Linked DNA regions of Homo sapiens: region 2 is linked to region 1. Evidence: promoter capture Hi-C in human tissues and cell types (Jung and others, 2019). All regions are on one chromosome and are shown on one strand. Each heading gives the region's core, a stretch centred on a gene start or on the middle of the fragment in contact. The rest is flanking DNA. Distances are from core to core; before and after follow the strand shown.

Evidence for each region. The method cuts DNA at HindIII sites, captures the fragments that hold promoters and counts their contacts. A contact is called where the count stands out against the background at its distance.
Region 2: a contact is called between a fragment that was not itself captured here and the fragment with the promoter of PPP1R14D in region 1, in 3 of the 25 tissues and cell types used here (IMR-90 fibroblasts, adrenal gland and aorta).

What each region holds. Positions count from the first base shown.
Region 1 is chr15:40,825,640-40,832,223 of GRCh38, reverse strand. PPP1R14D (protein phosphatase 1 regulatory inhibitor subunit 14D) reads left to right here and starts at 3,516. Exons shown (of 4, transcript NM_017726.8): 1 at 3,516-3,837. The coding sequence starts at 3,583. RefSeq lists a silencer at 5,719-6,013 and enhancers at 5,719-6,013, 6,009-6,509, 6,510-6,584. The HindIII fragment of the contact is 14,686 bases long and covers 1-6,584 here.
Region 2 is chr15:40,638,427-40,645,010 of GRCh38, reverse strand. It overlaps KNL1 (kinetochore scaffold 1), which reads right to left. Exons shown (of 26, transcript NM_144508.5): 14 at 3,984-4,099; 15 at 1-14. Among named protein-coding and RNA genes, the nearest start is that of KNL1, 47 kb to the right of the region's middle. The HindIII fragment of the contact is 3,641 bases long and covers 1,992-5,632 here.

The sequences.
Region 1 (6,584 bases), core at 2,267-4,766:
TGCCTGCCCAATGCCCTTAAGATGGAGACAAAATTCCTCAACGTGGCTTACAGGGCCCTGCCTGGGTACCTCAACCCTTTCTCCTGCCTCACTTTTCCCTCTCTCCTCCCTCTGTTCCAGCCCCATTGACCCTCTTAGTCCCTTGTACTCACCATCTCCCTTCTGCCACAGGGCCTTTGCATGTCCTCTGCATTCTGCCAGGCCCATCCCTGCTGGCTCCTAGGCCAGTTTAACTTCTACTCATCTGTCAGAACTCAGTCCAGATGTTATCACTTTCCAGGTTACACCTCCATTAGACATTCATATAGCACCTCCTACTTTTCTTCAAATCACTAAATGAAATTGCAATTTTACATTTATTTGATGAGTTGATTATTGTTTGTTTATTTTCACACTAGACTATAAGTTCCTTCCATGAAGGCAGGGACTGTGTCTCTTTTGTTCTTCTTTGTTTGTTTTTTGTTTTGTTTGTTTTTTGTTGTTATTGTTGTTGTTGTTATTTTTTGGGGTTTTTTTGAGACAGAGTTTCGCTCTTGTTGCCCAGGCTGGAGTGCAATGGCACGATCTCAGCTCACTGCAACCTCCGTCTCCTGGGTTCAAGCAATTCTCTTGCCTCAGCCTCCCAAGTAGCTGGGATTACAGGCACCCACCACCACGCCTGGCTAACTTTTTGTATTTTTAGCAGAGATGAGGTTTCACCATGTTGACCAGGCTGGTCTGAAACTCCTGACCTCAGGTGATCCACCCACCTCAGCCTCCCAAACTGTTGGGATTACAGGTGTGAGCCACCGTGCCTGCCCTTTGTTTAGTTTTTACAGAGACAAGGTCTCACTATGTTGATCAGGCTGGTCTTGAACTCCTGACTTCAAGCAATCTTCTCGCCTCAGCCTCCCAAAGTGCTGGGATCACAGGTGTGACCCACCGTGCCCATCCTGTGGCTCTTGAATAACCACTGAGCATAATGTTTGGCCTACCAGGGGAGCTCATAAAATCTTTGTTAAATGAGTGAGTAAATAAATGAACAAAACACAGTGACTCTTCTCATCTAGTTTCTTTTCCCGAAAGGGCTCTCAAACCCTTCAGAAGATAGGAAACAGAAGAGGCAGGGAACTACCATAATAATGCCTCCTGGCCACAGACTGTTAAAGTGACAGCTGAGTCAACAAGATGCATCCTAGAGGCCCCCCTCCTCCTGCTCAGGAAGAGAGCCACACTGATGAAAGCCCAGGCATTGACCACCAGAGCCTCGCCAGGAGGGCAGGGAGAGTGGGGAGGTAAATAAAGGACAGGAATGAATGTCTACTGACAGGGACTCTGTTTCAGATGCCATGCTAAATGTTTACATGCATCATCTCATTTTATCTTCCCAACAAGCCCAATCTGCAGATGTGAAAACAGGCTATGAAACTTGGCCAAGGATTATAAAACCAATGCAGGGCAAAGCTGAGTTGAACTCAGATTGTCAGCCTTCCTCCAAAGCCTGGGCTTTTCCTGGCTGCCATCTTAGTTTCCAGCCACTCAAACACCTCCCTTATCTTCTTAAGTGAGGGCCTAAAATTTCATCATTAAACTGTCATCCATTCGCCTTTTTCCTTTTTTGAGACAGGGTCTTGCTCTGTCACCCATGCTTAAGTGCAGTGTTGCCATTGTAGCTCACTGTAGCCTTGAACTCCTGGGCTGAAGTGATTTTCCCACCTTCCAAGCAGCTAGGATGACAGGTGTGCACCACCATATCTGAGTAATCTTGCTTTTCATTTTTTACTTTTTTTTTTTTTTTTTTTTTGAGACGGGGTCTTGCTCTGTCACCCAGGCTGGAGTGCAGTGGCATGATCTCGGCTCACTGCAACCTCCGCCTCCTGGGCCCAGGCGATTCTCCTCCCTCAGCCTCCTGAATAGTTGGGGCTACAGACGTGTGCCACCACGCCCGGCTAATTTTTGTATTTTTAGTAGAGACAGGGTTTTGCCATGTTGGCCAGGCTGATCTCAAACTCCTGACCTCAAGTCATCTGTCCACCTCAGCCTCCCAAAGTGCTGGGATTACAGGCATGAGCCACCGTGCCTGGCCCATTGTTTACATTTTTTAATGGAGACAAGATCTCACTGTGTTGCCCGGACTGGTCTTGAACTACTGGCCTCAAGCAATCTTCCCGCCTGGGTCTCCCAAAGCAGCTAATTTTTTGTATTATTATTATTTTTTTTTTTGGTAGAGAGAGAATTTCACCATTTTGCCCAGGCTGGTCTTGAACTCCTGAGCTCAAGCAATCCACGCGCCTCGGCCTCCCAGAGTGCTGGGATTACAGGCGTGAGCCACCATGCCTGGCCCCATTTTAAAAAAATTACAGGCTGGGCACGGTGGCTCACTCCAGTAATCCCACCACTTTGGGAGGCCGAGGCGGGTGGATCATGAGGTCAGGCATTTGAGACCAGCCTGGGCAACATAGTGAAACCTCGTCTCTACTAAAAATACAAAAAATTATCCGGGCATGGTGGTGGGCGCCTGTAATCCCAGCTTCTTGGGAGGCTGAGGCAGGAGAATTGCTTGAACTTGGGAGGCGGATGTTGCAGTGAGCCAAGATCGCAGCATTGCCCCCCAGCCTGGGTGACAGTGCGAGACTCCATCTCAAAAAAAAAAAAAAAAAAATTACAGTGTTCTTCTGTCACTTTTTTTTTTTAAAGTTTAGAAATTTTCATTATAAAAGACTAAACAAAAATACCCTGCCTTAGAATGCAAGTATGTATGCCTGGAAGTATTAGTCCCTGACACCTGTGTATAAGTTAGGTTTGCAGGTTTCCTCTGTGTCAGCAAATACATGAATCGGGGGAGGGTCACGTGGTAATAAACATGGCTTCCTAAGCAGTTGCCTCAGGGGAGCGGGCATAGTAGACAAGTCTTGATAAATTTGCCTTTACAAGCAGGTAAACTGCCTTTATAGGCCAGGCTGATAGCAGTTTACATTCGGACACACCCAGACACTGGGGGCACTGGTCCTACGGGAGCCATCAATAACTGACCTCCAACTCTATCTACCAGCTGGGGCTCTGCCCCCAGTAGTGCTACGCTCTGAGTAAGAATCCCTGCCAGCCAGGGACCCTGCTTCTGCGGAATCTGACCACAGCTTCTCAGAGCCCAGAGTGGATCCAGCCCCAGGAAGGTGGGATACAGAGGGATCTCAGGTGAGAACGACTCAGGTCCCATTCCAGAGCTGGCCATAGAGCAGCGATTGGAGCCCTGTACCCTTCAGGACCCCAGGGCCCCTTCCTCCTCCCTGGGCATGGCAGCCTCTTGACCTTTGCTCATCTGCAGTTTATGCCACTTTGGGCCCTAGAAGCTGCAGAAAGGGAGGCTGGGGCATGGCTCTGGAGTGCCACTCACTGGCTGGCAGTGAGGAGCCAGGAGACTGGCATTCCCAGCACCAAAGTCCTATTGATCTTTGCCCTTGCCCCTCCCTGGGAGCCTTGGCCCTCCTCCTGCCTTCATTTCTTCTCTGCTGGCCTCTCCTGTTCTCTGTCTCCTCACTTCCCTCTGTGGCTCTGCTCAGAACTGGCGGTTTTTCCCAGCTCCTTGCCCAGACCAATACTTCCATGCTGTCTTCAAGCCCTGCTTCCTGCACATCTCCCAGCCCAGATGGGGAGAACCCATGTAAGAAGGTCCACTGGGCTTCTGGGAGGAGAAGGACATCATCCACAGACTCAGAGTCCAAGTCCCACCCGGACTCCTCCAAGATACCCAGGTCCCGGAGACCCAGCCGCCTGACAGTGAAGTATGACCGGGGCCAGCTCCAGCGCTGGCTGGAGATGGAGCAATGGGTGGATGCTCAAGTTCAGGAGCTCTTCCAGGTAGGTAGCACAGCGGATAGTGGGAGGAGATGGGGGCCTGGGGTCCACCCAGGGCACTGAGACCTTCACAGGAGCTGGAGGGCTGATGTGAGGTGCTTCCGTGAAGAGAAAGCTTTTGTAACTGATGAAAGAAAGAAGCATCGGTTTGAAGTCCAGAAGTCTGCCTCCCTCTAGGCTTGTCTGTGCCTCTAATGCTCTTTGTGATCTGGGGAAGGTCTTTTAACATCCCTAATCTATAATAGGGCTGTTAGTGCCTGTCATATCTCCTTTATAGGACTTTCTGAGGCTCAAATGAGACAATAGAAGGGAAAATGCTTGGTCACACTATGTTTCAAAATTTTATATCTTTATTTACTCCCATGTTCAATGCACATACATGTCCGGAGCTACATTTTCGTTTCTTTTCTTTTTCTTTGTTTCTTTCTTTCTTTCTTTCTTTTGTTTTTTGTTTGTTTGTTTGTTTTTGAGACAAAGTCTTGCCCTGTTGCACAGGCTGGAATGCAGTAGTGCAATCTCAGCTCACTGCTCTGCCTGCTGGGTTCAAGCCATCCTCCCACTTCAGCCTCCTGAGTAGCTGGGACTACAGGTGCGCACCACCACGCCTGGCAAATTTTTTTGTATTTTTTTTTGTAGAGACGGCTTTTCACCATGTTGCCCAGGCTGGTCTTGAACTCCTTGGCTCAAACAGTCTGCCTGCCTCGGCCTCTCAAAGTGCTGGGATTACAGGTGTGCACCACCATGCCCAGCCTAGAGCTACATTTTCCAATTCTGTAGCCATCAGCCATGTGTAGCTGTTTGACTTTAAATGAGTTATAATTAAATAAAATTATTCAGTTCCCCAGTCACATGGGCCACATTTCTTTTTTCTTTTGCCTTTTTTTGAGACAGTCTTACTCTGTAAACCAGCCTGGAGTGCAATGCCGTGATTTTGGCTCACTGCAACCTCCGCCTCCCAAGTTCAAGCGATTCTCCTGCCTCAGCCTCCCGAGTAGCTGGGATTACAGGCATGCGCCACTGTGCCCGACTAATTTTGTATTTTTAGTAGAGACGGGGTTTCTCCATGTTGGTCAGGCTGGTCTCGAACTCTCGACCTCAGGTGATCTGCCCACCTCAGCCTCCCAAAGTGCTGGGATTACAGGCGTGAGCCACCGCACCCAGCCAACATGGGCCACATCTCAAGTGTTAAATAGCCCCATGTGGCTAGTGACTACTATGTTGTCAGCACAAATATAGAATATTTTCGTTATTTCAGAATGGACAGTGCGGGACTAGAATGTTAAGAGTAACCAAAGTTGAGTGCCAATACCAGGACCTAAGCAATCTTTGACCCTGGCTCTGACTAACACTCTTCAACCCCACTCTGGGAAAAGGACAGGTCTTGGTCCCTGGTTACTGGAAACGGCACTTTCTTACTTATATACCTTTAAACCTGGATTCTAGAGAGGTAAGAACTGCTGTTCCAGCAATAAGAATAACATTCTGAACACAACTACGTGCTAGGCTCAATGCCAGGCACTGACATGCATTCTTTCATTTAATCCTTCCCACAACTCCATTAAGCAAGTACTGTTTTTCTTTTTTTATAGAGATGAGATCTTGCTATGTTGCCTAGGTTGGTCTTGAACTCCTGGGCTCGAACGATCCTCCAATCTTGGCTTCTCAAAATGCTGGGATTACAGGTGTGAGCCACCATGCCTGGCCAGCAGGTACTGCTTTACAGCTGAGGGAATGGAGGTTTACAGATGTTGAGTAACTTGCCCAAGGTCACACAACTAGGAAACCTTGGGACCAGGTGTGGAGCCTGGCCACTTATTTGAGCAGCCAATGGTTCTCCACACTTGAAATACTTAAGAAAAAAAACAGATGCCCTGGCTCCTCCTCAACTGAATTTAAATCTACTACAGTGGAGTCCAGATACTGGGCATTTTTTAAAAGCCCCACAGTTGGTTCTAATGTGTGGCTGGGCTGAGAACCATACGCCAAGCTAGTCAGGAGTTCAAAATATGTTGTCCTTGTTTCTCTTTCTTGTTGACTCAGATCCTATCTTTTTGGAGCAGCAGGGCCCTATAATTCCTGTGGGTAAGGGTTATCAGCAGTCCTAGGGTTGCAGGTGGTGAAGAATGATTGTTGTGACCCAGTCTATCTCGAAACTAACTGGGTCATGTGTCAGTTTGGTCAAGGTATTGACCAAAGATGCAGCATCCCAAGCATCTACCTCCCAAGCCCACTCACTGAGGGTAGGGAGACCCCTTGGAGCTGGGAGGCAAACTATCTTGGCCTGTATCTGCTCTGACCTCGCAGGACATATCCACTGCTCTTCCCTAATTCCAGCACTCTCCACTGGATCAGTTTCAATTTCAGATTGTTTATTGTGCACTTGCATACAGTCTCAAATTTCTGACATTCCGGGGCAAATCCTTCCAGACATCAAAGAAAGAACCTTGTTTTGCAAGATGAAAGTGGAGGGCTGGAGGCTGTACAGTAATAAGCCTGTAACACAGAAAGCAAGACATGTGGAAGGAGCGTTCCCAGGCAATGACTGGAATAAAATGCCTGGCCTGTGATTGCCATGGTAATTGTCCAAAGGTGCCAGGTGGCAGTTTCTCTCCCAATCCCTGCTCTTTTCAGCAGGAAGCAGTTAAGTGGCTGGGGAAGCCCCAGGTTGTTGGTCATCTTGGGCAGAGGTCAAGACAGCACAGTCTCCAGCCTTACTCTGCTCCATTCCAGTTTACGGAGAGCCCCTGCCC
Region 2 (6,584 bases), core at 2,563-5,062, 190 kb after region 1:
CAGAAAGCTTTAATCTAAAATACGGAAAAGTTAATTAGCACTGTAGGGAAAAGAAAGAGATCAGACTGTTACTGTGTCTATGTAGAAAGGAAAGACGTAAGAGACTCCATTTGGAAAAAGACCTGTACTTTGAACAACTGTTTTGCTGAGATGTTGTTAATTTGTAGCTTTGCCCCAACCACTTTGCCCCAGCCACTTTGACCCAACCTGAAGCTCACAAAAACATGTGTTGTATGAAATCAAAGTTTAAGGGATCTAGGGCTGTGCAGGACGTGCCTTGTTGACAAAATGTTTACAAGCAGTATACTTGGTAAAAGTCATCGCTATTCTCTAGTCTCAATAAACCAGGGGCACAATGCACTGCGGAAAGCCGCAGGGACCTCTGCCCTTGAAAGCGGGGTATTGTCCAAGGTTTCTCCCCATGTGATAGTCTGAAATATGGCCTCGTGGGATGAGAAAGACCTGACTGTCCCCCAGCCCGACACCCGTAAATGGTCTGTGCTGAGGTGGATTAGTAAAAGACGAAAGCCTCTTGCAGTTGAGATAGAGGAAGGCCACTGTCTCCTGCCTGCCCATGGGAACTGAATGTCTTTGTATAAAACTCGATTGTACATTTGTTCGATTCTGAGATAGGAGAAAAACCGCCCTATGGTGGGAGGCGAGACATGTTTGCAGCAATGCTGCCTTGTTATTCTTTACTCCACTGAGATGTTTGAGTGGAGAGAAACATAAATCTGGCTTAGGTGTACATCCAGTCACCATACCTTCTCTTAAACTTAACTATGACGTAGATTCTATTGCTTACATGTTTTTGTCCTTATTATCACCCTGCTCTCCTACTACATTCCTTCTTGCTGAAATAATGAAGATAATAATCAATAAAAACTGAGGGAACTCAGAGACCGGTGCCAGTGCAGGTCCTTGGTATGCTGAGAGCCGGTCCCCTGGGCCCACTGTTGTTTCTCTATACTTTGTCTCTGTGTCTTATTTCTTTTCTCAGTCTCTCGTCCCATCCGACTAGAAATACCCACAAGTGTGGAGGGGCAGGCCACCTCTTCAAGCGTAGGGTTCAGAAGCCAGCTTGAATGAACCAGCTCAGGTCTACAATCATGTTTAATTTAACTCTTCCTAGTTTTTTTCTACATAATAAGAGGGGAATTCATTCAAGAAAAGCCTGATTATTCACTTGAAGAATAGTAGTTCAAGAATGTCATACATCAAAAAAACTTCTATCACTAACAGAATTCTCATCTCAACGTACCAACTTGTTCCAATGTGAAACATTTCGCTTATAAAGAATCCTAAGGTCTGTCAATGATCGCTGCTATAAAGTTGTAGCTATTATTATTTTATTTTTTTGAGACGGAGTCTCACCCTGTTGCCAGGCTGCCAGGCTGGAGTGCAGTGGCGCAATCTTGGCTCACTGCAATCTCCACCTTCTGGGTTCAAGCAATTCTCTTGCCTTAGCCTCCCGAGTAGCTAGGACTACAGGCGCGTGCCACCACGCCCAGCTAATTTTTTTATGTATTATTTTAATAAAAGTTCCCGGCCAGGCGCGGTGGTTCACGCCTGTAATCCCAGGACTTTGGGAGGCTAAGGCAGGTGGATCACGGGGGTCAGGAGATCGAGACCATCCTGGCTAATACGGTGAAACCTCGTCTCTATTAAAAATAGAAAAAATTAGCCAGGCATGGTGGCGGGTGCCTGTAGTAGTAGAGGTTGAGGCAGGAGAATGGCGTCAACCCAGGAGGCAGAGTTCTCAGTAAGCCGAGATCGCGCCTGGGTGACAGAGTGAGGCTCTGTCTCAAAAATAAAAATAAAAAATAAAATAAAAGTTTCCAATTCAGTTCAAAGGCATATTTCACATTTTTAGAATAGCATCTATAAAAGCAGCAAAGTTATGATAGTCTCAATATATATTAGTCTTTTGTTAATAAATGGAGAAAATAAATTTCTAACAGAGATAGAATATCTCTTGTAGAGGATATATGCAGGCATACAGATGCAAAATCAAACAGTAAAGCACAACTAAACCTACCGCTCATTGAGTGTAAGATCCCGTTTCATTCAAAATAAACATTCTCAGCTGGTGTGGTGGTTCACGCCTGTAATCCCAGCACTTTGGGAGGCCGAGGTGGGTAGATCACTTGAGGTCAGGAGTTCAGGACCAGCCTGGCCAACATGGTGAAACCCCATCTCTACTAAAAATACAAAAATTAGCCTGGCATGTTGGTGGGCACCTGTAATCCCAGCTACCCAGGAGGCTGAGGCAAGAGAATCGCTTGAACCCAGGATGCAGCGCTTGCAGTGAGCCGAGATGGCGCTACTGCACTCCAGCCTGGGCAACAGAGCGAGACTCTGTCTCATTAAAATAAACAAAGAAACAAACAAACAAACATTCTCAGGGAAATCCTGACACAGCCAACTCTTTCCAACAACATGAAGATACAAAATTTGCCAGTTTTGTTCAGCGATGAACCCCAGTGCATAGTATAGTACCTGGCAGATGTAGGTGCTCAATAAATATTTGTTAAATGAACAGAATCAGGAAAATCTGAAATATCTTAAATTTCTGATTTTAAAACTACGTAATTCTTTTTTTTTTTTTTGAGACAGAGTCTCGCTCTTTGGCCCAAGCTGCTGGAGTGCAGTGGTGCGATCTCAGCTCACTGCAAGCTCCACCTCCTGGGTTCGCGCCATTCTCCCGCCTCAGCCTCCCGAGTAGCTGGGACTACAAGTGCCTGCTACCGCGCCCGGCTAATTTTTCGTATTTTTAGTAGCGACGGGGTTTCACTGTGTTAGCCAGGATGGTCTCGATCTCCTGACCTCGTGATCCACCTGCCTCAGCCTCCCAAAGTGCTGGGATTACAGGCGTGAGCCACTGCGCCCAGCCAAAACTACATAATTCTTTTGAAAAATTTTTAATATTCTTTTCCTTCTACTTCTAAAACCCAGATAATTCTTAAAGACTATTTTATTTCTTTTCTGTTAGATTGGTTCAAATTTAGTTGGATAGTCCCAGATAAGTATGACATAAACATTACTTTGAGTTTTAAAGTCTGATTTACCTAAGGGAATCTAGATGTATCTAATTTGTAAATCAGTCTGCAGTATTTACGTATACCATAGCAATGAGCTATCTTCTACGTAAAACCATGTTCTTTTATATATGTAAACAAGCGTAAATGTGGTAAAATTATAAACTCAAAGGCAATCTGATTTCAGGCACTATATATAGATTGAGTATCCCTTATCTGAAATGCTTGGGACCAGAAGTGTTTTGGATTTTGGACTATTTGGATATAAGAGATACCTTGCGGGTGAAACCCAAGCCTAAACGTGAAATTCATTTATGTTTCATATATACCTTGTACACATAGTTTGAGGGTAATTTTATACAATATTTTAAACAATTTTGTGCATGAAACAAAGTTTGTGTAAAGTACTTACGTATTTATGTGTGGAATTTTCCACTTGCATCATGTTGGTGGCTAAAACATTTTGGATTTTGGAGCATTTCAGATTTCCGATTTCCAGATTAAGGTTACTCAACTTGCGTAAATCTCTAAAGGATATTTTCTTTTGAAGGTGTTCTCTAGCAATCAACTTATGATATCATAATCTAAAAATTACTGTTTATTCTTATTAAGGACCTACCTTTTCCTAAGAATGGTATGAAAACAATTTATATACGCCATTTCTATTGTTCATATCTATTGGCTGAGTAGGTTTTATTATCCTCACTTTAAGGATTTGGAAATGAAGGTTAAATGACTTACCCAAGGTTACACAGCTAGTGTTGAAGCCAAGACTGAGCTTCAATCTGACTACGAGGCCAAAGCTCTTTCTCCCACATCACACTGCCAATTAATGCCATCAATTTTACCCCATGCCAGCATTATTCTAATCAAAACCTTACCACACAAACTATTAACTGATCCCTCCCCTCAAAAAAACACACATAAAAATTAAAGCTTTCATACTCTTCAATCTTTTGGCGACGAGCCTCACAATCTTCTCTATAAATCTGTATCTTGGGTCGGTAAACATATTGACTTAACATCAGGTCTTCTGGAGTAGGTGGTGTGTTTACAGTAAACTGGAAAAAAAAATTCAGTCCCTGAGAACTGGTATCTTGCAGACAAAACCATATATAAGAATTAACTCAAATTTCAGAGTGCCTATTTTAAAATGTTCTACAAAGAAAAATTTGAATACTCAAGTTCATAATGCCAGTAAACAAAAAATTGGAATCTGAATTCAAGTCTCTGACTTCTAAGTCCCTTTCCCCATAGATTTTACTGGAACTGTGGTTGTTCTTACTCACATGGGAATGACAGTAGTTTGAAAATGGCTATGCGTTAAGAAAATAAATATTACCTAAAAATTCAACTTACCAGGAACCCCTTTTTAATTTTTTTTTTTAAGCCAGTTTCCTAGTAACTATTCCCATTTTCTAGCCATAATCCTTACTCTATCCCAGGCTGAACTCAAACTTTTCTGGCACATCCTCCAATTATAAAATAAGGCAGTGAAAATTTGGTTATTTAAAAATGTTTTATAGAACTAATCCAATGGCTTTGATGTCCTTGATGCAGTATTGAAAAAATCAAGTCAGGGCCGGGCACAGTGGATCACACCTGTAATCCCAGCACTTTGGGAGGTGGCAGGCAGATCACTTGAGGTCAGGAGTTTGAGACCAGCCTGGCCAATAGGTGAAACCCTGTCTCTATTAAAAATTCAAAAATTAGCTGGGCATGGTGGCGCACACCTGTAGTCCCAGCTACTCCAGAAGCTGAAGCAGGAGAATTACTTGAGCCCAGGAGGTGTAGGCTGCAGTGAGCCGAGATTGCGCCACTGCACTCCAGCCTGGGCAACAGAGCAGGACTCCGTCTCAAAAAAAAAAAAAAAAGAAAAGAAAAAAAGAAAAAAAAGAAAAGAAAAGAAAAAAATCAAGTCAGCTCCTTATTTACAAAAATCAAACAAAACCCTACAACTGAATCTCCAACTCCTAGGCTCAAGCGATCTTCCTGCCTCATCCTCTCCAGTAGCTAGTACTACAGATGTGTCACCACGCCTGGCTAATTTTAAAATTTTTTGTAGAGATGGGGTCTTGCTATGTTGCCCCGGATAGTTTCGAATTCCTGGCCTCAAGTGATTCTCCTGCCTCAACCTCCCAAAGCACTGGGATTATAGATGTGAGCCACTGTCTCCAGCTATGACTAGCCTTTTTTTTTTTGAGATGGGGTCTAGCTGTCACCTAGGCTGCAATGTAATGGTGTGATCACGGCTCACTGCAGCCTCAGCCTCCCAGGATCAAGCAGTCCCCCAACCTCAGCCTGCCAATTAGCTGGGACTACAGGTGCATGTGAGCCACCATGCTTGGCTAATTAAAAAAAATTTTTTTTTTCCTTTTTTTTTTTTTGAGATGAAGTTTTGCTCTTGTTGCCCAGGCTGGAGTGAAGTGGCGTGATCTCAGCTCATTGCAACCTCCACCTCGTGGCTTCAAGCGATTCTCCTGCCTCAGCCTCCACAGTAGCTGGGATTACAGGTGTGTGCCACCACGCCCGGCTACTTTTGTATCTTTAGTAGATATGGGGTTTCACCATGTTGGCCAGGCTGGTCTCGAACTCCTGGCCTCAGGTGATCTGCCCACCTCGGCTTCCCAAAGTGCTGGGATTACAGACATGAGCCATCGTGCCCGGCCAAAATTTTTTTTTTTAGTTATGGGGTTTTGCTACGTTGCCCAGGCTGGTCTCAAACTCCCAGATCAAGTGATCCTCTTCCTCTGGTCTCCCAAAGTGCTGGGATTATGAGCATGAGCCACTGCACCCAGCCAAAAAAAAAAAAAGGATTTTTAAGGCTAGAATTATACATAAAAATCAAAACTATATGTACTGGTTAAAAAAGAAATGGCAGGCTGGGTGCAGAGGCTCATGCCTGTAATCCCAGCACTTTGGGAGGCCAGGGCAGGCGGATCACCTGAGTTTGGGAGTTGGTGACCAGCCTGACCAACAATACAAAATACAAAATTAGCCGGGTGTGGTGGCGCATGCCTGTAATCCCAGCTACTCAGGAGGCTGAGGCAGGAGAATCACTTGAAATCGGGAGGCGGAGGTTGCAGTGAGCAGAGACAGTGCCATTGCACTCCAGCCTGTGCAACAAGAGCGAAACTGCGTCTCAAAAAAAAAAAAGAAAGAAAGAAAAAAAAGAAATGGCAGCCAGCGCGGTGGCTCACGCCTGTAATCCCAACACTTTGGGAGGCCAAGGCAGGCGGATCACCTGAGATCAGGAGCTGAAGACAAGCCTGGCCCACCTGGAGAAACCCCATCTCTACTAAAAAATACAAAAATTAGCCGGGCGTGGTGGTGGGCACCCGTAATCCCAGCTACTTGGGGGGCTGAGGCGAGAAAATCACTTGAACCCGGGAGGCGGAGGTTGCAGTGAGCCGAGATCGCACCATTGCACTCCAGACTAGGTGACAGAGCAAGACTCCATCTCAAAAAAAAAAGAAAGAAAAGAAAAAGAAATGGCAGACCTGGGCACAGTGGCTCATGCTGTAATCCCAGGAGGTTGAGGCAGGA